Regions from separate parts of the Homo sapiens genome. Here all the other regions are linked to region 1. Evidence: promoter capture Hi-C in 16 types of primary human blood cells and fetal thymus (Javierre and others, 2016). All regions are on one chromosome and are shown on one strand. Each heading gives the region's core, a stretch centred on a gene start or on the middle of the fragment in contact. The rest is flanking DNA. Distances are from core to core; before and after follow the strand shown.

What was found. Contacts are between HindIII fragments. The CHiCAGO score rates a contact against its expected background, and 5 or more counts as called.
Region 2: a contact is called between a fragment that was not itself captured here and the fragment with the promoter of PNMA1 in region 1, in 1 of 17 cell types (total CD8 T cells). The highest score is 5.1, in total CD8 T cells.
Region 3: a contact is called between a fragment that was not itself captured here and the fragment with the promoter of PNMA1 in region 1, in 3 of 17 cell types (M1 macrophages, erythroblasts and M0 macrophages). The highest score is 6.3, in M1 macrophages.
Region 4: a contact is called between a fragment that was not itself captured here and the fragment with the promoter of PNMA1 in region 1, in 4 of 17 cell types (naive CD4 T cells, total CD8 T cells, activated CD4 T cells and 1 more). The highest score is 5.9, in naive CD4 T cells.
Region 5: a fragment that was not itself captured here is called in contact with the fragment with the promoter of PNMA1 in region 1 in 12 of 17 cell types (non-activated CD4 T cells, total CD8 T cells, activated CD4 T cells and 9 more); the score reaches 9.8 in non-activated CD4 T cells.
Region 6: a fragment that was not itself captured here is called in contact with the fragment with the promoter of PNMA1 in region 1 in 4 of 17 cell types (activated CD4 T cells, total CD8 T cells, naive CD8 T cells and 1 more); the score reaches 6.2 in activated CD4 T cells.
Region 7: a fragment that was not itself captured here is called in contact with the fragment with the promoter of PNMA1 in region 1 in 11 of 17 cell types (M2 macrophages, activated CD4 T cells, M1 macrophages and 8 more); the score reaches 7.8 in M2 macrophages.

What each region holds. Positions count from the first base shown.
Region 1 is chr14:73,712,548-73,715,633 of GRCh38, forward strand. It overlaps PNMA1 (PNMA family member 1), which reads right to left and starts at 1,837. Exons shown (of 1, transcript NM_006029.5): 1 at 1-1,837. The coding sequence starts at 1,092. The coding sequence ends at 31. It overlaps MIDEAS (mitotic deacetylase associated SANT domain protein), which reads right to left. Exons shown (of 13, transcript NM_001367710.1): 13 at 2,575-3,086. RefSeq lists enhancers at 1,233-1,292, 2,233-2,302 and silencers at 1,383-1,552, 1,733-2,012. The HindIII fragment of the contact is 4,676 bases long and covers 1-3,086 here.
Region 2 is chr14:73,919,124-73,922,136 of GRCh38, forward strand. It overlaps ZNF410 (zinc finger protein 410), which reads left to right. Exons shown (of 12, transcript NM_021188.3): 9 at 1,857-1,982; 10 at 2,943-3,013. Among named protein-coding and RNA genes, the nearest start is that of FAM161B, 29 kb to the right of the region's middle. The HindIII fragment of the contact is 1,630 bases long and covers 727-2,356 here.
Region 3 is chr14:73,496,431-73,499,393 of GRCh38, forward strand. It overlaps HEATR4 (HEAT repeat containing 4), which reads right to left. Exons shown (of 18, transcript NM_001220484.1): 13 at 2,641-2,710; 14 at 1,725-1,914; 15 at 171-249. It also overlaps a transcript of ACOT1 not described here. Among named protein-coding and RNA genes, the nearest start is that of RIOX1, 7.0 kb to the left of the region's middle. The HindIII fragment of the contact is 282 bases long and covers 1,538-1,819 here.
Region 4 is chr14:73,896,986-73,899,844 of GRCh38, forward strand. It overlaps ZNF410 (zinc finger protein 410), which reads left to right. Exons shown (of 12, transcript NM_021188.3): 5 at 1,086-1,277. Among named protein-coding and RNA genes, the nearest start is that of ZNF410, 12 kb to the left of the region's middle. The HindIII fragment of the contact is 921 bases long and covers 1,042-1,962 here.
Region 5 is chr14:73,846,063-73,849,124 of GRCh38, forward strand. No RefSeq gene overlaps it. Among named protein-coding and RNA genes, the nearest start is that of PTGR2, 4.2 kb to the right of the region's middle. The HindIII fragment of the contact is 406 bases long and covers 1,469-1,874 here.
Region 6 is chr14:73,957,737-73,960,884 of GRCh38, forward strand. It overlaps COQ6 (coenzyme Q6, monooxygenase), which reads left to right. Exons shown (of 12, transcript NM_182476.3): 5 at 411-541; 6 at 1,235-1,342; 7 at 1,426-1,488; 8 at 1,679-1,786. It also overlaps a transcript of ENTPD5 not described here. Among named protein-coding and RNA genes, the nearest start is that of COQ6, 9.0 kb to the left of the region's middle. The HindIII fragment of the contact is 1,599 bases long and covers 878-2,476 here.
Region 7 is chr14:73,878,601-73,881,632 of GRCh38, forward strand. PTGR2 (prostaglandin reductase 2) reads left to right here. Exons shown (of 10, transcript NM_001146154.2): 6 at 496-705; 7 at 1,455-1,576; 8 at 2,605-2,692. Among named protein-coding and RNA genes, the nearest start is that of ZNF410, 6.7 kb to the right of the region's middle. The HindIII fragment of the contact is 3,993 bases long and covers 1-3,032 here.

The sequences.
Region 1 (3,086 bases), core at 587-3,086:
GGTCTGCACTAAAGCTGCCTTTCCTGGCACTCAGAAGTGCCCTTCCAGGCCTAACTGCAGAAGGGTGGCCTCAGCCTCCTCCTCCTCCTCCTTGGCTTCCTCCTCACGGATCTGCACCAGCAACTGAAAGAGGTTTGGGGCTGGCCCTTCCCCAGCCCCGGTAAGCCACAGCTGCCTTCGGATGGCCCCGCTGTGGTTGGCCCCGGCAATGACCTGCTCTAGGCGGGCCTGGTTCACATTATCTTTATCAATGGCCCCCTTCTCTACCACCTTCTGTAGCAGAGGCTCCAGACGAATGACATAAGCAGACAATTTTTCTCCCGGGTTCTGATAAGTGTTCAGAAATTTGATCTGGGCATCCCTAGAGCTCTCAACGCTCCCAAACACCTGCTCAAGCGCCTTCAGGCATTCGGCAGTGGTTATCGCGGGGTTGTTGGACTTAAGGATGCGAATAACATCAGCGGCGGGGCCTCTAAGACTCTCCATCAACCGCCGCCTCTTTTCTACATCGGACACCTGCCACTCCTCTAGGACCTCATTAGTGTGCTCCAGCCAGGGATCAAAGGTTTCCTCTCCAGGCCCTGGGATGTCCCTCCCCGAGAAAAGTGTCAGCCTCTTGTACCATATGGACTCAACAAGAGGCTGAATAACATTATCCAAAATATAGTTTAGCATCTCTGCTGGCATCTCTGGGCCCGGGGTCGGAGTAGGGTTCTGAAACCCAAGGACACGGGCAACATCTTGCACGGTCCACCCCTCTCTAGCTAGGAAGAGGTGCAATCTTTCTAAAAATTCAGCATCAGAAGTTGGGGGCTTAAATAACACTTTCCAGACCCCTCCTTTGCCCGGCATCTCCCTGGGGATCGCGGCGTAATCTACAGCGCCAGTGAGCTCTAATAAGGCTGCTTTCGCATTTTCTTCCCTCCAGAACATTCTCCCAAGCATTCGGTAGGAGACCTGGGGCATCGCAGCCTGGAGGGTCTCTTCGATTTCAGCCTCATCACAGTTCACTGGGATGCCCCAGACTAACAGAGCTCTCTGGGAGTTCACATCCATCCCCCGGCACCAGTCTTCCAACAGTGTCATCGCCATTTTCTCAACTATCAAGACGCCAAATTCTACCAACAGACTGTGGCTCACCGTGCTCCTGGCCTTAGAACAATACCAGACACTCCCACCAAGTAGGCCCGAGGGAGGCGACCTTCATGCAGTCACGATTAACAAAGACAGAGTCCTGATCTCGCCCTTCTCTGCCCCCACAGTCAGTCCGTAGGTGCACTCGGAGCCGAGCTCGGGGACGCTGAGGCAGTCACGCGGCCGTCGCCATCTTGCGTCTGGGTCTGGGTCCGGTCGGGTCCGCCGCCTGCAGCAGGGGCGTCGCGTCGTCGTGCAGCGGGCGAGGAGCGACGGCGGGCGGCGAAGGCAGGCGCGCTGGGCCGAGAGCCGCCGGGGTGTGGTCGCGGGGCGTGGCCGCCGGGCGCTCGCTGCGGCTCCTGGAGAGGATCGGGCGTTCGCGGTCGCAGCCTGGTCTTCCCGCGGGCGAGGAGCGGCCGTTTGGGAGACTAGCCAGAGGGAGAAACTGTGCCGAAGTCGCGGCGGCTGCGGGCCAGCGGAAAGCGGCTTCTTGGCGGGCGCGGGGACTCCTCTGGGCGGGCGGCGAGGACGGCCGAGGACCAGAAACGAAGGCAGCAGAGGAGCAGGAAAGTCGGAGAAGCGAGGCTGGAGACAGCAGAGGCGAGGGTGGGAAGGGGCGGCCGCGGCGGCCCGCAGCGGTTCAGGCGCTGCGCGGCTGCTCTGGCGTCCAGTCCTACCCGCAACCCGCCGCGACGTTACTGCTGCAGTGGAGGATGGGGCCAGCCGGCGAGCGGCGTCCGCCCCGCCCCGCCCCGTCCCGCCCCCGCGGCGGAGCTGCTCGGGCGTCTCCATGGCAACGGTGTCCCAGCCGGCGCGAGGCACGCCTGCTCCGGCGGCTCGCGGGGGTCGAGCGGTTGCCGTGGAGCCAGCGAGGGGCTCGGGCATTTGTTTCTCTGATGGCGCATTTCCTTTTTCATAATTTAGCATTTTAACAGTAAACAACTACTACTAAGCACCGTGTTTTAAAAATAATAACCCAATCCTGGAGTGGATTTAAGATGATATTGTTGGAAATGCATCCCTCATGGTGGACTTGTCTACTCGGGTTGCTCAGCCAGTCCACCCTGCACGTGAAAATACTCTCCTCAGAACCCTGGCTTCCCGTTGCCCCTGACCACACTGTGCACCCTGCATATTTCATCCCAATGAAGCCAAAATGTCGGAGTGCGCCATTTCTGTGTATTTGTGTGAGACACTGAGTTTAGACTTTTTCTTGTCTAAAATTTTGTAAAAATCTGTCTGTGTCTACTGAGTCATCTTTTAGCCAGGCAAACATTAGTGTATTATTTTCCTTTTCCTGGCTGGCATCATTGACAATAGGCTGCTAAAAGAGAATCCTTATGGTTCAAAAATGTCGAGTAATCTCCCTGCAAGCAAGACAAGGCGCACTTACATCAACCCCAGATGGTGAAAATCCCAAGAGAACAAAGCATTCAACTCTGAATTTTTAAAACCTTATTTAATAAAAGGTTTAAAGATACAGAAGAACATTCAAAAGTAAATAAGTTACATAGGTACATTACAATCACATCAGCAAGATTCTTTAGTGTATTAATTTTTTTCTTATAAAAAGCACACAAAAAATAAAATCTTCAGTCTCTATCACAACTGTACAGCAAAAGAGGTAATATTTATATATGTACACTATTTTAATATGTAACAGTCTTTTTAAAAAAGGATGCCACAGGCAGCAAACACACAAAAGGCAGTGTCTGATCATTTTTGTTTCAAAATAAAAGGAATATACTTATTTATATGCTATTAAAATATCTGTACAATAATTACAGACTGTCAAGGCTGTTCCTGTGCTCTGTCCCCTCCAACAAAGCCTTCAACTTAGAGACAAATGAGGAAAAAGTGAAACAGCTGCAAATTGTTAGAAGCAAATATTAACATAGCAAAATGTGGGGAGGACACAATTGTTTTATAAAAATATCCCTACTTCCTGTAAA
Region 2 (3,013 bases), core at 292-2,791, 210 kb after region 1:
ACCTCCCAAGCAGCTGGGATTATATGCGCCCGCCACCACGCCTAGCTAATTTTTGTAGAGATGCGGTTTCACTATGTTGGCCGGGCTGGTCTTGATCTCCTGACCTCAAGTAATCTGCCCGCCTCGGCCTCCCAAAGTGCTGGGATTACATGTGTGAACCACTGCACCTGGCTAAAATAAATTTATTTTAGATTCAGGGGGTACATGTGCAGGTTTGTTACAAGGGTATATTCCAAGATGCTGAAGTTTGGGCTACTAATGACCCTGTTGACCAAGCAGTGAACATAGTACCTGATAGGTAGTTTTTCAGCCCTTGCCCCGTAGCCGCTTTTGGAATCCCCAGTGTTTATTGTTCCCATCTTTGTGTCCATAAGTACCCAGTGTTTAGCTCCCGCTTATAAGTGAGAACATGGTGTTTGATTTTCTGTTTCTGTGTTAATTTGCTTAAGATAATGGCCTCCAGCTGCATCCATGTTGCTGCAGAGGACATGATTTTGTTCTTTTTTATGGCTGCATAGTATTTCATGGTGTGTATGTGCCACATTTTCTGTATCGTATTTACCATTGATGGGCACCTGGGTTGATTCCATGTCTTTGCTGTTGTGAATAGTGCTGCATTGAACATGTGAGGGCAAGTGTCTTTTTGGTAGAGCAGTTTATTTTCCTTTGGGTAGATAGCCAGTAATGGGATTGCTGGTTCAAATGGTGATTCAGTTTTTAGTTCTAAGCTTTGTAATATTCCACCCTGTTTCTATTGTATAGGTTTTTTTTTTTTTTTTTTTTTTTTTGCTATGCAGGACTACTGCAGTATCTATAGCTTTTTAGTCAGTCTCTGTGATGAATATTTACGTTGTTTCCAGTATTTAGCCATTTAAAATAATGTTGCCGTGATGAATAACCTTGTGCACAGAGTATTTCACATTTTGCTGCTGTAATTTTGGGACATATTCCTAGAAGTGGGATTCCTAGGTCAAAGGGCAAGTGCATCTACAATTTTTCTAGATCTGGTCAGATTCCCCCAAAGAGGTTTTTGTATTTTGCATTCCCAGCAAAATACAATCAGCAATGATGATTGCTGTACCATGTGTTTGTCAATTGTGAATTTGTTCCTAGCATTTAGAAATTGGGAGATTCTACTTAAAAATCCTTATTTCCAGTGTCTTAAAAAAAAATCAGAGAATCTGCCTTAATCTACCCATGGCAACAGTTGGCTAGAGCTGAATAACAGCTGCCCCTTTTCTAGGTACTCTCTAGGTTACTGCAGCCCCCACTTGGCCATTTTACTTACTTTTGCTACCTATCAGTCTCCTATAGACATGAGTTTTTGACCCCTGCTCTAAGTATGGTTTTCTGGGTAGGTAGAATGGAGACGGAGAGTTTGGGACTTGAAGACATAGAGGACAATTTAGATTATTATGTTGTAAGAGCCACCAGTGTGAATGTTGATGACCCTAAAGAGGGTGGCAGGGAATATGACAAGGGGATATTAGGAACACAGGATTGAAATCCTTGAGGAAAGCACATGTCCTAGAGGTCCATGGAAGACTAACTGAAAAAGAAGGCATATTTTTTGTGGTTGCCATGGTCCTATACCAAAGAGGTTTTGTGAAGGCAGCATTACAGAAGGTCTGGAAAGGACCAGCAGCTGGGAGCAGGGAGTGTGCTAAAGCCCTCCTGGTGTACTCTTCCTGCCTTCCCCCATATACTGAAGTTTGAGAGGCTGGGAAGGTGCGGAATGGGAAAAGGAGCAGCTGCTTATGTTCAGTTTAACATTCTCTGGGTTTCTCCATCTAGGTCTTGAGTTCATTCTCTTCCTGTCCTTTTGGCTTCCTTGTTTAACCTGGTCCCTGTTTCAGGAGAGAAGCCTCATCAGTGCCAAGTCTGTGGGAAGACCTTCTCTCAGAGTGGAAGCAGGAATGTGCATATGAGAAAGCATCACCTGCAGCTGGGAGCAGCTGGGAGTCAAGAGCAGGAGCAAACTGGTGAGGAGGGTGGGCATAGTGGAACGCTGTACTACTTCTAGGGTTCCAAGAGCCAAATCACTGTCCTGCCTGCTTATCTGGAAATTTTCTGATTCTGTTTTGGGTAGATAGACCTGGTCTCATTTGATGGGCTGATGGTTTCCAAACATAGCTATACAGTAGAATCATCTGCAACCTTTTAAAATTTATATACTTTTTGTTGCTTGTCCGCCCACCAATAAAACAAAGCAATCTGATAAATGAGATAATTTGCAAGATCCTAGAATCTGTAGTTTTAAAAGTTTCCCTAGTGAGTTTGATGGTAACTAGTGCTGATCCATGAACAAGCATTTGAGTAACACAGTGATAAAAGATTTCCACATGGGAAGAGTTTAAGCTTTTTAATTTTTTTAGATGGAGTCTTGCTTTGTCACCCAGGCTGGAGTGCAGTGGCGCCATCTCGACTCACTGCAACCTCTGCCTCCTGGGTTCAAGCAGTTTTCCTGCCTCAGCCTCTTGAGTAGCTGGGATTATAGGCAGGTGCCACCACACCTGGCTGATTTTTATATTTTTGTAGAGACGGGGTTTCACCATGTTGGCCAGGCTGGAAGCATATTTTATTTACCAGTCATGACTACCTTTTTGCCCTGCCTGAAATTTGATAACTCTTTTTAATTCTTATTCCTTCGCCATATCTTTCCTTAATTATTCCAAATATTCCTTTCTAAAGATCCACCTATCCTGTTTCATATGCTAATTCTTCAGACGCTGAACACAAGCAAGGATCATTATCTTCTAAGGCTTACTCTTTCCCTTCTAGGTTTATTCTTGTTTCTCGAAAGTAGGTGAAATAGGGGGTGGCATCCCATCTATAGGTTAACTTCTAGTAATGAAAGAGAAGGCCAGCTTCTGTTGAAAGAAAATGAGGACCAGGCACAGCCTTGATTGCTGTATGTCTCTCACAACCTATTCTCTGTGCAGCTGAGCCACTAATGGGCAGTAGTTTGCTTGAAGAGGCTTCAGTACCCAGTAAAAACCTGGTGTCTATGAAT
Region 3 (2,963 bases), core at 429-2,928, 220 kb before region 1:
TCTTGCACAGATGCTTTGCATCTTCAAATGATGTGGCATCTGTGTCTGGGGTTTTAGAAAGTACTTCTATGGTGGGAAAAAGGGTATGTACATGTTTGAGGAGGACAGGGTCTGAGGAACTCTTGAGAGTCCTGAATTTTCTCTTGAGAACAGAGCTTGCACTTATTTACCCTGTTCTTGATCTCCTGAAGCATTTCTTGGTTTCCTTCATTTCCTAAGTTGAGTATCTTCATTGTCTGGTACATTTCTCTGAAAGATAAGAAGGGCTTCTTAGATTATTCTACCCTGCCCTTTAAAAAAGTATGGGGGTAGAAAATATAGGACTTGGAATCAGGTAAGAATCCCAAGTTCCAATCCTAACTGTGCAGTTTTGCTGAGCCTTATATGCAAAAATGGTATAATGCTTAGCTTACAGGAATAATGTGCAGTTTTTGAGACAATATATTTGTGGGTTTTTTGTTTACTTTTTGTTTTTGCGAGATGGAGTCTTGCTCTGTTTCCCAGAGCTGGAGTGCAATGGCACGATCTCGTCTCGGCTCACTGCAACCTCCACCTCCCAGGTTCAAGCGATTCTCCTGCCTCAGCCTCCTGAGTTGCTGGGACTACAGGCGCGTGCCATCATGCCCAGCTAGTTTTTGTATTTTTAGTAGAGATGGGGTTTCACCATGTTGGCCAGGCTGGTCTAGAACTCCTGACCTCAGGTGATCCACCCGCCTTGGCCTCCCAAAGTGTTGGGGCTACAGGTGTGAGCCACTGCACCCGGCCATGCCCGTCTAATTTTTGTATTTTTAGTAGAGACAGGTTTCACCATGTTGGCCAGGCTGGTCTAGAACTCCTGACCTCAGGTGATCCATCTGCCTCAGCCTCCCAAAGTGTTGGGATTACAGATGTGAGCCACCTCATCTGGCCAAGACAATATATTTGAAGGTGCCAATAGGTACCATTTACTGAACACCTTTATGACAGGCGCTAAACATGTCATCTCATTAATTATCACCACAACCCTATAATGTAGACTATCACCTGCATTTGATACATGAAAAAAATGGGCTCACAGAGTTTAAATACCTTACACGGGCTCACATAGCTATTGCATGCCAGAGCTGGAATTCAAACCCTGGTCTTTTTGACTCTAAAACTTGTTGTCCCAATAGGCATTTGATAAATGTTAGTTGAATATATGAATAACTTAAAACCCATCCTTTTTTTTTTTGAGACGGAGTTTTGCTCTTGTTGCCCAGGCTGGAGTGCAATGGCACCATCTCGGCTCACCGCAACCTCCACTTCCCAGGTTCAAGTGATTCTCCTGCCTCAGCCTCCCTAGTAGCTGGGATTACAGGCATGTGCCACCATGCCTGGCTAATTTTGTATTTTTAGTAGAGACAGGGTTTCTCCATTTTGGTCAGGCTGGTCTCAAACTCCCGACCTCAGGTGATCCTCCTGCCTCAGCCTCCCAAAGTGCTGGGATTACAGGCGTGAGTCATCACACCCGGCCAAAACCCATCCTGGTGGGGAGAAAAGATGCATGAACTACATAAGCTTGACTTTCAATCTAATTTAGGCCAGTTTTTCAGTTACCTACTTGGGTGAGTGGTGAATGTGCAGGTGAACCAGTGCTTTTACTGCCATTAGGTAGCCTGGAAAGGCAGGGACATATTCAATGAGCAAAGATGTGAGAGTTGGCAGTATAAGGTCATGGTGGGAGCCAGAGGTTTAGTGCTTACTTTAGAACAGCATCGTGGTTCTCCAGGAGCAGCACGTCTAGGAAGGTGTCCCTGACCCGGTCCCCTTGAAGTTTCAGGGCTAGGATGCTACGGCAAGCTTCCAGCCGTACACCTGGTGACTCTTCATAGTGGATAGCCCAGAGCAGAAGATCCGTCAGCTCGGGACTTACTTGCCCAATCTGTCCCAAAGCTGCAGAGATTAGAGGGCAGCATGTCACTGAAGACTGAGCTTACTATATTCTAGCATCCAGAAATAAATTGAGTTTTGCAAACAATACCTTCCCTTTTGGATGGTAATCACCATTAGAATTTTAGGGATAGGTCAGAATGGGACATTACCTCCAAAGGATTCCTAGAAGAGGGATGTTCCATCCCATCCTTGCCTGTTAGGATATTTGCCTATTTTGGGATGAAATATAGAACAAATAACATGGAAGACCTGCCTAGTCCCAGCAGGGTGATGGGGAAAGGAGGCACAATTATTTATCTATGTCAAAAAGAGAAGCAATGCCAAAGATTCTAAAAAGAAACTAGGCAGATTAAGGGGCAGGGTTTTAGGTCTGTAGCAGTCTTGAAACTGATCTGACTTTTGCAGAGCGTAATAGTTGAGATCTCCAAGGAAAGCAAGATGCATCCAGCACTGGATACCTACTTGGAACTTATCCTTAATTCTGTTGGCAGGGACTGTCTTGTCAGCCCTTTCTTTAACTTAAGTTTGACATATACCTAGACTCAGGATCTTTCACTAAAAATTGAAGAAAATTATCTTTCTCTTTTCAGACAAGGAACTTCTGAAAAGCTAAGATCATTACCTCTCCTGCACTTCACCCCATTAGAGAGTTTCAGGGGATCATTTCTACTTGCATAGGCAAAGGTATTTAAGGTTGAAGAGTTTGGGGCACTACTTCTATAATACCTCGAATGGCAAAGGCCTTGATTTTCCAGTAAGGATCTCTCTGCATCAGGTTCAGGAGGCATTCAAGCACCTGGGATGGAAAAGGCAGTGTTGAGTGGGGAGGACCAGAGCAAGAATGAACCAGAAACAGCTGGGTGCGGTGGTGCACCCCTGTAATCCCAGCATTTTGGGATGCCAAGGTGGGCGGATCACTTGACATCAGGAGTTTGAGACCAGCCTGGCCAACATGGTGAAACCCTGTCTCTACTAAAAATACAAAAATTAGCCGGGCATGGTGTCACACGCCTGTAATCCCAGCTACTCGGAGGCTGAGGTAGGAGAAT
Region 4 (2,859 bases), core at 252-2,751, 180 kb after region 1:
TGGGACCCTGGGAAAAAACATTTAAGAGGACAACAGAACAGGAAGGAGCAGCTGGAAGGGGATGAAGAGAACTGGGAGAGAGTGGTAGCAGGGAAGCCAAGGGAGGAAGAAGTTTTAAGGCAGAAAAGATACTAAATCATGCCAAATACTACATGATGGGCTTATTAGTGAGAAGAAGTGTGTGTCTGGTGACCCTAGCAAGAGCAATTGTTACTGTGGTAGCTGAGGTAGAGGCCAGGGTTAAAGAGATGGGGAGTGGATGGGAGGTAAGACAATAGATACACAAGTTAGAAGGTACACTTGTTCAAGAAGCTTGACTTTAAAGGAACAGGGAAGAAGGTAAATAGCTAGAGAAGTACTTGGGGTTTTCTAATTCTTTTTAAAAATAAGGGTGAGAGACTTGAGTTAGGACATATTTAAAGACATAAGGAAATGCTGGCCGATAGAGAGGAACTAGTTGCAGATAGGAGAGAGGAGATAACACAAGTATATATGGGGGGATAATTGAAGAATGAGAATGAAATACAGTAGGTGGGGATTAGTCTGGTTGACCAAGAAAGACAGCTTTGCCTTGAAACCAGAGGAGGCAAGGTAATGACAAGCCTGTAGACTAAAGGTAGAAAGATGATAGCCTGCTCTTCAGTGAGAAGTTTGAGGTAAAAGGCGAAGGTCAGGAATAGCTTATTTAGGACATGGAGAGTTTCTGGGCCAGGCGCAGTGGCTCACGCCTGTAATCCCAGTACTTTGGGAGGCCGACGTGGGCGAATCACGAGGTCAGGAGTTCAAGACCAGCCTGACCAACATGGTGAAACCCCGTCTCTACTAAAAATACAAAAATTAGCCGGGCGTGGTGGTGCATGCCTGTAATCCCAGCTACTCAGGAGGCTGAGGCAGGAGAATCACTTGAACCTGGGAAGCGGAGGTTGCAGTAAGCCGAGATTGCGCCACTGCACTCCAGCCTGGGTGACAGAGCGAGACGCCGTCTCAAAAAAAAAAAAAAAAAAAGGGACATGGAGAGTCTCTGAGCCAGGGCAAATAAAAAGCTTGCTTGGTTTCTAACTTTTCATATATTTTGTTTCTTCCAGGTCTGGGCTCTTCAGCTGAGCACTTAGTGTTTGTACAGGATGAGGCAGAAGATTCAGGGAATGATTTCCTCTCCAGTGAGAGCACAGACAGTAGCATTCCATGGTTCCTCCGGGTTCAGGAGTTGGCCCATGACAGTTTGATTGCTGCTACTCGTGCACAACTGGCAAAGAATGCAAAAACCAGCAGCAATGGTGAGGCCCGTCGGCATTTTCCTTGCCACTATTCTGTGCAAAGAGATTTTGGTAATGCAGTGGCTGGTTTGAGTTGTATATAATTTAAATTATTCTATTGATGAGAGCAGAAGGCTAGAAATCTGTAAATTGTTTAAATTTTATTTTCTATAAAATAACTTGGTCATGCCAGATTTGTGTTCAAAACCAACTAGTATTCTGAATTCTCAACTTTAAATAATGTACAGAGCCCCTTTTAAAGAAAAAATAATATACATCCTGGGGTTTGAATTGTTTTTATTGTAATGTCTCTTAAATATGCAAAAACATAAATTCTGTGTAAACTTCATATACTTAGAGCTCTTATACCATCATGAAATCAAAACAGTTTTTATCAGTTAATAGGAATAAAACTACCAAATCCATGAAAATAAAAATAACATTAAGTCATTGTGGCAGAGGATTATGTTTTGCTGAAACTAAATTGCTGCTCATGGCAGTTTAACAATTAGCTATGATGGTTTTAATGCTTTTTCTTTTCAGTTCAGCATGCCTATACTACTTACTCTGTGTCACTTTTCTCTGTTCTAGTAATTTTCAAAGCATTGTCACTGGATCATTGACGTCACGTGGGAACTGAGAAATATAAACTCTCAGGCCCATGCCAGACCTACTGAGTCAAAAACTTGGTTCTGATACATGTTAAAGCTTGAGAACCACGGCTCTATTCAGACCACTGCAGAATCTTTGCTTATGTAGCATGTCATGGATACTTTTTTAGGTCTGCCTCTGTGTTTTCTCATTAACATGTGACACAACTCAATACAACATGGTTTAATGCTATCATTATCACAAACTAAGCTTAAGCACTTAGTACACAGTTGTTTGGAGTTTATGCAGATTATCTAGTATATGCTTATTATTATTTTTTGATTACCATTCAAATGAAAATAAAAAGTTAAAATTTCTCATAGAGAACTAGAGTTCCCTATGAATATTTTGAAACATTAAATCTTTTTTTTTTTTGGTCTTTTTTTTTCCCTTTTTATGGAGAATGAGGTTTTGCTCTGTTGCCAGACAGGTCTCAAACTCCTGGACTCAGGGTCTCCTCCTGCCTCTGGCTCCCTAAGTGCTGGGATTTTAGGTGTGAGCAACCATCCCCAGCCAAACTCTAAACTGTTTGTTTTCAAAATACTTAGTTCTGTTTATGACTACCATAGTGCTACTTAGAATGGTTCATTTTAACATTTTGGTGGGACCCTTAAAGTTCAGATTCTTCCTGAGATATATGTGCCAATCTCCAGATGCTGAAACCTTCAGCATTTCCTCTTACATTGAAGAAATAGTGTCATATTTGCCAATGAGAAGCAGCGTAGGGAGGGGAGCTTGCAATTTAGAATCTGGGAGCCCTGGGATCCAGGCCTGGCACCATCATTTACTGGTTCCCTGCCTTGGGCAGTTTAACCTCCCTTAGCTTCAATTTTCTTACGATCTGAACATAGAGATCAGGCAGCTTTCCTGACTGGCTTGTTATGGAGATTATGTAACATTCTATCTGGGAAATGTTATAATCAGCAAAGCATTGTGTGGATGTTTTTCTTAC
Region 5 (3,062 bases), core at 422-2,921, 130 kb after region 1:
AACCCTGTCTCCACTAAAAATAAGAAAATTAGCCAGGCATGGTAGCATGTGCCTGTAATTCCAGCTACTTGGGAGGCCGAGGCATGAGAATAGCTTGAGTGAGCTGAGACTGTGCCACTGCACTCCAGCCTGGGCAACAGAACAAGACTGTCTCAAAAAAAAAAAAAAAAAAAAAAAGAAAGAAAAGAAAGCAAGCTTGGAAGTGGATTCTTCCCCAGCTGAGTCTTCTTATGAGACCACAGCCCAGCCCAGACTGGCAGCTTGATTACAGAGACCTTGAGCCAGAATCACCCAGCTAAACTGTGCATGGCTTCCTGATCCTTCAAAACTCTGAGATAATACAATAAAAGTTCATAGTTTTTGTTTGTTTGTTTGTTTGTTTTTTGAGATGGAGTCTAGCTCTGTCACCCAGGCTGGAGTGCAGTGGCACAATCTTGGCTCACTGCAACCTCTGACTCCTGGGTTCAAGTGATTCTCCTTCCTCAGCCTCCTGAGTAGCTGGGATTACAGGCGCCCGGCACCACACCCAGCTAATTTTTGTATTTTTAGTAGAGACGGGGTTTCACTGTGTTGGCCAGGCTGGTCTCGAACTCCTGACCTCGTGATCCACCCACTTTGGCCCCCAGAAAGTGCTGGGATTACAAGCGTGAGCCACGGAAAAGTTCATTGTTTTAAACCACTAAGTTTTGGGGGTAATTTGTTTGTAGCAATAGATAACGATACAACAGCCAATCTTCAAAAGTTTTTCTTTCAAGGTTATTTTCACTTGGCATGCAAGAATTTCTAAACCTCTAAGAGTTTTCAAGCTCTCTTTTCTGAAATTGTACTTCAAAGGACAGATACATTAATGGGGAACAAAAACATGTTGATCACATTTATAAATATCCATACAACTTGGTAATCATATAAATGTTCTTAATTTAACACCTTATACGGTTAGAGTCTTTGAAATGATTTTATGATACAGAAATGTCGCTCTTCATCAGTAACTGCAGGGGAGAGAAGAAATCTCATTCATCTCTTTCTGGGACTCTTTTTGTTAATTTTGAAGACTTAGCATTTTTAAGGTCAGGCTCTGGATTTCATTAGTCAGCATTATATGTAAAATGTAGGCTAGTGGAGCTAAATTTTACTGGCAGAAGTGGAGGAAGAAATATAGCCGGGTGCAGTGGCTCATGCCTGTAATCCAAACACTTTAGGAGGCTGAGGCAGGTGGATCACTTGAGGTCAGGAGTTCAAGACCAGCCTGGCCAACATGGTAAAACCCCGTATCTACTAAAAATACAAAAATACAGGCATGGTGGTGGGTGCCTGTAGTCCCAGCTACTTGGGAGGCTGAGGCAGGAGAATCACTTGAACCTGGGAAGCAGAGGTTGCAGTGAGCCAAGATCCCGCCACTGCACTCCAGCCTGGGTGATAAAGCAAGACTCCATCTCAAAAAAAATTAAAGTAAATAAATAAATAAATAAGCTTTTATTTAATAGCAGTGAAATAGCTTATAGCATTCAAGCCCCTAAAGAGATCAGTCATACCAATAGGAGGTACAGGGGAGAAAATTTTGCTTTGCAATTTTGAGATACATTACCCACAGTGACTTTAACTAAAAGGAGTGGGAGAAAATTCAGGTCCAACAGAGGACAACTCTGACTGGCCATGTTAGTTCCAAGCTCCCCGGGGAGTTCAGCTTCTCCTGTTGCCCAGTCCTGCTTTCTTCCTCTTCCTCCGATAGGTATTGATTCAAAAGGTATTCCCTAATAGACATCCTGCATACCAAACTCCCCATCAGGGTTTGCTTTCCAGAGAACCCACCTTGTAATAGGCACAAATATGACCTTTTTCTAAATGCTCAATTTTTCTGAAAAAGCATTTATTTAAGCTTGAGTTTCACAGGATTCGGTTACAGCATTTTTTTTTTTTTTTTTTTTTTTTTTTTTTTTTTGAGACAGAGTCTTGCTCTGTCACCCAGGCTGGAGTATAGTGACGTGATCTGGGCTCACTGCAACCTCTGCCTCCCAGGTTCAAGCCATTCTTTTGCCTCAGCCTCCTGAGTAGCTGGGTTTATAGGCGCTCGCTACCATGCCCGGCTAATTTTTTGTATTTGTATTTGTATTTTTGTATTTTGTATTTTTAGTGGAGACAGGGTTTCACCATGTTGGCCAGGCTGGTCTCGAACTCCTGACCTCATGTGATCCGCCTGCCTCAGCCTCCCAAAGTGCTGGGATTACAGGCATGAGCCACCGAGCCCAGCCAGGTGTGGTTTTTATCTCTTACTTTGTTCTGTTATCTCTTTAGGATGTATGTTTGGGTTTGAATTTGTGTCATTATGAACAATTATCACCTCCATGGAAAAATGTTTTATTTAGCATCAAATAATCTTTGATGTTGCACTAAGTGTCATATACCATGCAGGTTGGTCAAACTTGAATGATTTCTCCTGAGTAATTTGCTATCATACGAGGTTATTTTCATTTAAAAATAATTTAATGAATGAAAAAACTAAAAAATAATTTAATGAATGAGTATACAAACATATTAGATTAAGTATTTATATTTATTTTATTTATTTATTTATTTCTGAGATGGAGTCTTGCTCTGTCGCCCAGGCTGGAGTGCAGTGGTGCAATCTCTGCTCACTGCAAGCTCTGCATCCCGGGTTCATGCCATTCTCCTGCCTCAGCCTCCTGAGTAGCTGGGACTATAGGCGCCCCCACCACGCTCAGCTAATTTTTTTGTATTTTTAGTAGAGACGGGGTTTCACCGTGTTACCCAGGATGGTCTTGATCTCCTGACCTTGTGATCCGCCCACGTCAGCCTCCCAAAGTGCTGGGATTACAGGCGTGAGTCACTGCGCTCGGCCAAGTATTTATATTTATTATGCATTTTTTTTTTTAAGAGACAGAATCTCATTCTGTTGCCCAGGCTGGAGTGCAGTGGTGCAAACACAGCTCACTGCAGCCTCGCCCTCCTGGGCTCAAGTGATCCTCACACCTCAGTCTGTCAAGCAGCTGAGACAACAGGCACACACATCACACCAGGCTAATTTTTAAAATTTTTTGTAGAGG
Region 6 (3,148 bases), core at 427-2,926, 250 kb after region 1:
CGTATTGTTTTTATGACCAGAAAAATAAAATGATTTCCAGCTGGAAGAAAATCTTTTGTAGTCTAGGATTTGTTTCAGCCTATGGTATTCCCAGCCTGTCTACTGTAAAAGCAAACACGGGCTCATTTAAGCGTAGAGTGAAAATGGAGGCGCAGAAGCATGTGGACAGTAAGAAAGAGTGCCTCTGACAGAGTTCACTGAGAACTTCAATGTCTTTTTTTGACATTGAGTTATCTCTGTGGCTTCTGTCATTTATTAGCTCAGACCACAGCATTAATTACTGATTTTTTTAATCTTAAATGACAAGACACTGCTGTCCTGGGACCTTGCTTTAGGTTTAGTTATGGCTTTTTCCTCAGCCTATGTGGCCCACCTTTCTAATTTTTTTTCCTCTCTTTTGACCTCCCCAGACCGAGTGACGGTTCTCTACAGGAGCAAAGCCATTCGCTATACCTGGCCTTGTCCATTTCCTATGGCCGACTCCAGCCCTTGGGTTCATATTACCCTAGGTGATGGCAGCACCTTCCAGACCAAATTGTTGGTAGTTGAAGATTCTTATTTTGCTAGGGGTCTTGTATATCTACATCTTATCCTAGATTCTAGGGACTCTGGTTTTCGATTTAAGCTATAGTTTAATTTTAGGCAAAACTTTTGGTTATGAGGACCAGTACCTATTCAGGCCAGCTCAAGTGGAGATGGTCTCATCGTAAATCCTGTACAGGGAGCAATCTCATGGGCCGTCTTAGGTTGTGAAATAACAGATAGCTGGGCCTCACAGGACAGGCACCAGAGTGTTGGGAATGGAGGCTGTTCTTTCCCTCTGAGGAGTCTGTGGTCATTGATCTCTTGCCTCTCATTTTTCTCCTTTCTGCTCACAAGCTTCCCTTTTTGCATGGTAGCCATTCCTAACCCTACATCAGAACTATTCAGCTCCAGTGTGTGCCCCATACTGAAACTTTCCTTATTGCTCTCTAGTTCAAATATCAGGAGGGCCTGGCTGAGTTTAACTCATGGCTGGCACCTGTTCAGTCATGTCCAGCTTTGGCTCTGTTGGCTGAGGCTGATGTGACAGTGCAGGGGCTCCACCTCTAGGGGCTGTGAGTGAAGCAGGCCTGATGGAATTATCCTGCCACACAACAATCAGAGCTGGAGGAAACTTTAGGGAGCAGAGAAAAACTTCTGAAGCAGTTTATGAAGAGGCTGGAAGACTTAGCAGGCTCATGTGTCCATGCAGATAGGTGCAGATGGTCACAACTCCGGAGTACGGCAGGCTGTTGGAATCCAGAATGTGAGCTGGAACTATGACCAGTCTGCTGTTGTGGCTACTCTGCATTTATCAGAGGTAAGATCCTGAGCTGCCATCTGGGGACTTTATTCATAGGCACTAGGTACTTCACAGAGAAACTTTTCTCCTCTCTGTTGCAGGCCACAGAAAACAACGTAGCCTGGCAGAGATTTCTTCCCTCTGGGCCTATTGCTCTGCTCCCGGTAAGAGGTCCTTCTGACCAGTCCGCCCACATGCATGCAAGCCTTTCCTCTTCACTTTCTCTCAGCCTTTTTCTGGTTTCAAGGGAATCTGCCCAGGCTGTTTGTAAGTTCCCTTTTTGTCTTTTTATGCTTGAGAGTTTCCAAGTGCAGCAGAGTCTTAGCCGTTGGTATTGGTGTTCTTTTGACACAGCTCTCAGACACCTTGAGTTCCTTGGTTTGGTCCACGTCCCATGAACATGCAGCAGAGCTAGTTAGCATGGATGAGGAAAAATTTGTGGATGCCGTTAACTCTGCCTTTGTGAGTATCAATTTACCCAGCTGATGATGTGCTGCAGGGGGAGATACAGAAAGGTGTTGTTTTTTTTTTTTTGAAACGGATCCTTGCCAGGCTGGAGCGCAGTGGCGCGATCTTGGCTCACTGTGCAATCTCCGCCTCCCGGGTTCAAGCGATTCTCCTGCCTCAGCCTCCTAAGTAGCTGGGACTACAGGCACGTGCCACCATGCCCAGCTAATTTTTCTATTTTTAGTAGAGATGAGGTTTCACCATGTTGGCCAGGCTGGTCTCAAACTCCTGACCTCAAGTGATCTGCCTGCCTTGGCCTCCCAAAGTGCTGGGATTACAGGCGTGAGCCACTGCACCCAGCCAGAAAGGTGGTTTTGAGTCAGGAAAAAGGAGTAACCAGTCAGCTGTCCCTTTCTACTTTGTAACTATAATGCTTGGTCTAGATTATGTGGAGGAGTGTACACACGGAAATGCAAAACAATAGAAATAATAAATAATAACCTTTTGAGGGTTGTGGGCTGCTGTTAGGCTGACTGAAACAGCTGCCTGGGTGGTGGTTAGCATTGGCCTTTTTTTGAAGCTGTAACACTTGGATTATTTTGAACAGTTCTGCTAGGTTGCAGCTACCTGAACCTTTCAAGCCTGATTCATTGAAAGTATTCCTAGGGAAAGGCCGAGCGAATTTCAGCATGGGGCTTAAGAGTAAGCTTAGTAGATAGATGTGGGTTCAAAATGTAAATAGTATCACTAACTGCTCAGGATTGAATAAAGACTTTCAAAATGAGAGAACTTTTGTAAAATCCATGGAACATCTTTAGTACATTGTAGGTGCTCAACAAATACTAATAATTCTGGAGTAGACACAGCCTTTGGATAATATGGGTACCAGTATTACTTTTGGAGCCTAAATGACACTCAAAGCCTGCTACCTTCACACCAAAGACTCCACTGCTCTGTAGTAGCAACAAGAATAAAGGGAACTGAACATACTGAAATGGATTCCGAGATAAATGGTGAACACTACCCTACTCTGGGCCATTTAGTATATATTCCTGGCACAGGTCTAGGTCCTCTGCAGTGCAGTCATTCACCATTAATTGTCCTTTCTATGTAGCAGGCTCTGGAGATACTGAGAACAGTCTCCGCTTTCAGGAAGTTCATAGTCAAGTAAGGAAGACCGTAAATGACAATCTCCGTACAGTGATAGAAGTATGCATAGGATGCTGTGGAAGCATACAGGGGGGAAACACAGAGAAAGACTGGAGGAGTTAAAAAGAGGCGACGTCTTCTGGATGCTCTGAGATGTTATCCTAATGAAATAGAGACGGGCATTCTAAGCAGAGGAGAGTCATGGAGGTAGAAGGATACTGTGTGATG
Region 7 (3,032 bases), core at 404-2,903, 170 kb after region 1:
CAGCCACCGTATGTGGCTGAACAACTCCGTGAATCATGCCCAGCTGGAGTGGATGTTTATTTTGACAATGACCATAAGGGTAAACAACTGGTACTCTACGGTGTACTGTGTTGCCAGATGATTTTGCCCAGCCATAAGTGTTCTGAGCATGTTTTAGGTAGGCTAGGCTAAGCTATGATGTTCAGTAGGTTAGGTATATTAAATGCATTTTTTGCTTAGGATATTTTCAACTAATGATGGTTTTATTGGGACATATCCCTATCATAAGTTGAGGAACATAAGTCTACCTTTGTTCAATTTTAATAATTTTTTTTTAGGATGACATTGTCTGCCCTCAGTTCTTTTAGTTTCAAATTACTTTTCATTAAAAGCAGCGTAATCTAACCTTAATTGTAATGAACACTGTCATATACCTGTAATATCTTGTATACTGGTACATTTTTACATTTAAATGTGACAATATAAAGCCATTTAATCTTCAAATTTCCCCCCTAGATTGGCCATTTCTTAGGTTGTTCCAGAGTGGTGGGAATTTGTGGAACACATGAGAAATGCATCCTCTTGACCTCAGAACTGGGCTTTGATGCTGCAATTAATTATAAAAAAGACAATGTGGCAGAACAGCTCCGTGAATCATGCCCAGCTGGAGTGGATGTTTATTTTGACAATGTTGGTGGTAACATCAGTGATACAGTGATAAGTCAGGTTGTTTGCTGATTTCTATAACAAATTTGAATACTGCACTTTATATGTTGTGATATCTTTTTACCTAATACTGAGAAAAAAATTTATAAAATTGGAGGGATTATTGTGACTTAATGTGATGATCAGTATTGTATTTAAGTGATACAAAAGAGCTTGCTGATACCTACTTCCATTTACTTGCAGATTTGTACTATGAACTTCAATTTCAGTTATTTGCTACCAATATTATATTTTTCACTTTTGGTTTATTTTTGTGAAAAATTACAGTTGCATTGTTGAAATGCTGAAGCACTGATCCCTAACTCACCACTGACCAACTCACAGCCATGGCCCCAGACCTATGGGTTTCATAGGCTGCATGTATTTATGCATATTTACTAACAATATTATAAAATATCAACATGAGGTATTAACACTACATAGTCCTTTGCTGCATCTAAAATTATTTGCAGTTGAGATTATTAAATTGTTTAAATCCAAAAAAATACAGTTCTACCACTAATAAGTAGCAACAACAACTAATGTAATTCTTTTGCTGATTACCAACCATTTATTTGCCTTGGTGTTCCTTTGGAATGTAATTATTTCTAGCTAGTTAAAATTCTTAAATACCTCTAACAGGTAAATTAAAAAAAAAATCGAACTAGTTGACAGAAAGGATTAAATAGTCAAGGAGGCTTCCATTATGGCAGCCATAAAATCAGTAAACATAGGAAAGGGATATTTTATCATTATTTTTCTCTGTGCAGATGAATGAGAACAGCCACATCATCCTGTGTGGTCAAATTTCTCAGTACAACAAAGATGTGCCTTATCCTCCCCCGCTATCCCCTGCTATAGAGGCAATCCAGAAAGAAAGAAACATCACAAGGTGTGTTCTTCCTCTTTGCCCTTATTACCAGGTTCATGGGGTTTTAAATATCATAGATGTGTATGAAATCTATTGTTCTTCATAGACACTTTTTCTTTATTAAATAAAACTTTAGGTCGGGCATAGTGGCTTATGCCTGTAATCCTAGCACTTTGGGATGCCGAGACGGGTGGATTGCTTGAGGCCAGGAGTTCAAAACTAGCCTGGCCAACATGGTGAAACCCCTTCTCTACTAAAAATACAAAAAAATTAGCCGGGTGTAGTGATGGGCGCCTGTAATCCCAGCTACTTGGGAGGCTGAGGCAGGAGAATCACTTGAACCTGGGAGGTGGAGGTTGCAGTGAGCCAAAATCATGCCACTGCACTCCATCCAGCCTGGGCAATGAAAACGAAACTCCATCTCAAAAAAACAAAAAAAAAAAAACAAAAAAAAACCTTTAAAATACACATTTTTTAAGCTGGTTCAATATTTAGGTTCTGGCTAACTAGCTACCTGAAAACTGATAGTTATTGGCTTTGACTGGCCTGGGTTAAGTCACATGAGGGTCGAGAAAGGATGCTACCCACAAAGGAAAAATTCACGGTGCTATTAACAAATGGGGTTGTAGATACTGGGCAGACAAAAATTATTATTATTTGAGATGGAGTCTCGCTCAGCCGCCCAGGCTGGAGTAAAGTGGCGCGATCGCAGCTCACTAAAACCACCGTCTCCCAGGTTCAAGCGATTCTCCTGTCTCAGCCTCCCGAGTAGCTGGGACTACAGGCGCTCACTACCATGCCCGGCTAATTTTTTTGTATTTTTAGTAGAGACGGGGGTTTCACCGTGTTGGCCAGGCTGGTCTTGAAAAATTATTAATAGAAGTCTACATTTACACCTGTAACTATGCATAAAACTATCTGATCAGACTCAATGTGTTATGTCCTAATATTTTAAGGATTAACAGATATTAGAATTCTGGAATGGTTTGATCTTGGAATACCACTCCCGTTATATTCTCTGATCATTATCCTTTTCTTCCTCACTGCAGGGAAAGATTTCTGGTATTAAATTATAAAGACAAATTTGAGCCTGGCATTCTACAGCTGAGTCAGTGGTTTAAAGAAGGAAAGCTAAAGGTAGAACTTCTATTCTTTATCAATATAATTCTTCCTGCTACTTGATATAATTTTGCATTATTTAAATGTACTATAGCAAACATACTAGTTTCATTATAAAAATTCCTACAAAAGAAAAGTATGCTGAATATTATAAATTAACTCTACCTCCCAGGTGAGTATAACCTCCTGATCAACAAACCCTTGCTTGTTATTCCCTTTATCTAAAATTTTTTAGCTTTACTTTCCATAGATTATATTACAAAATCATTAGGTTTTCCCCCAAATGTAAAATTATGTTTATTAATTTAACAAATATTTATGGGATGCTACTATGTGTTAGAAGCTGTGCTTTCTCAAA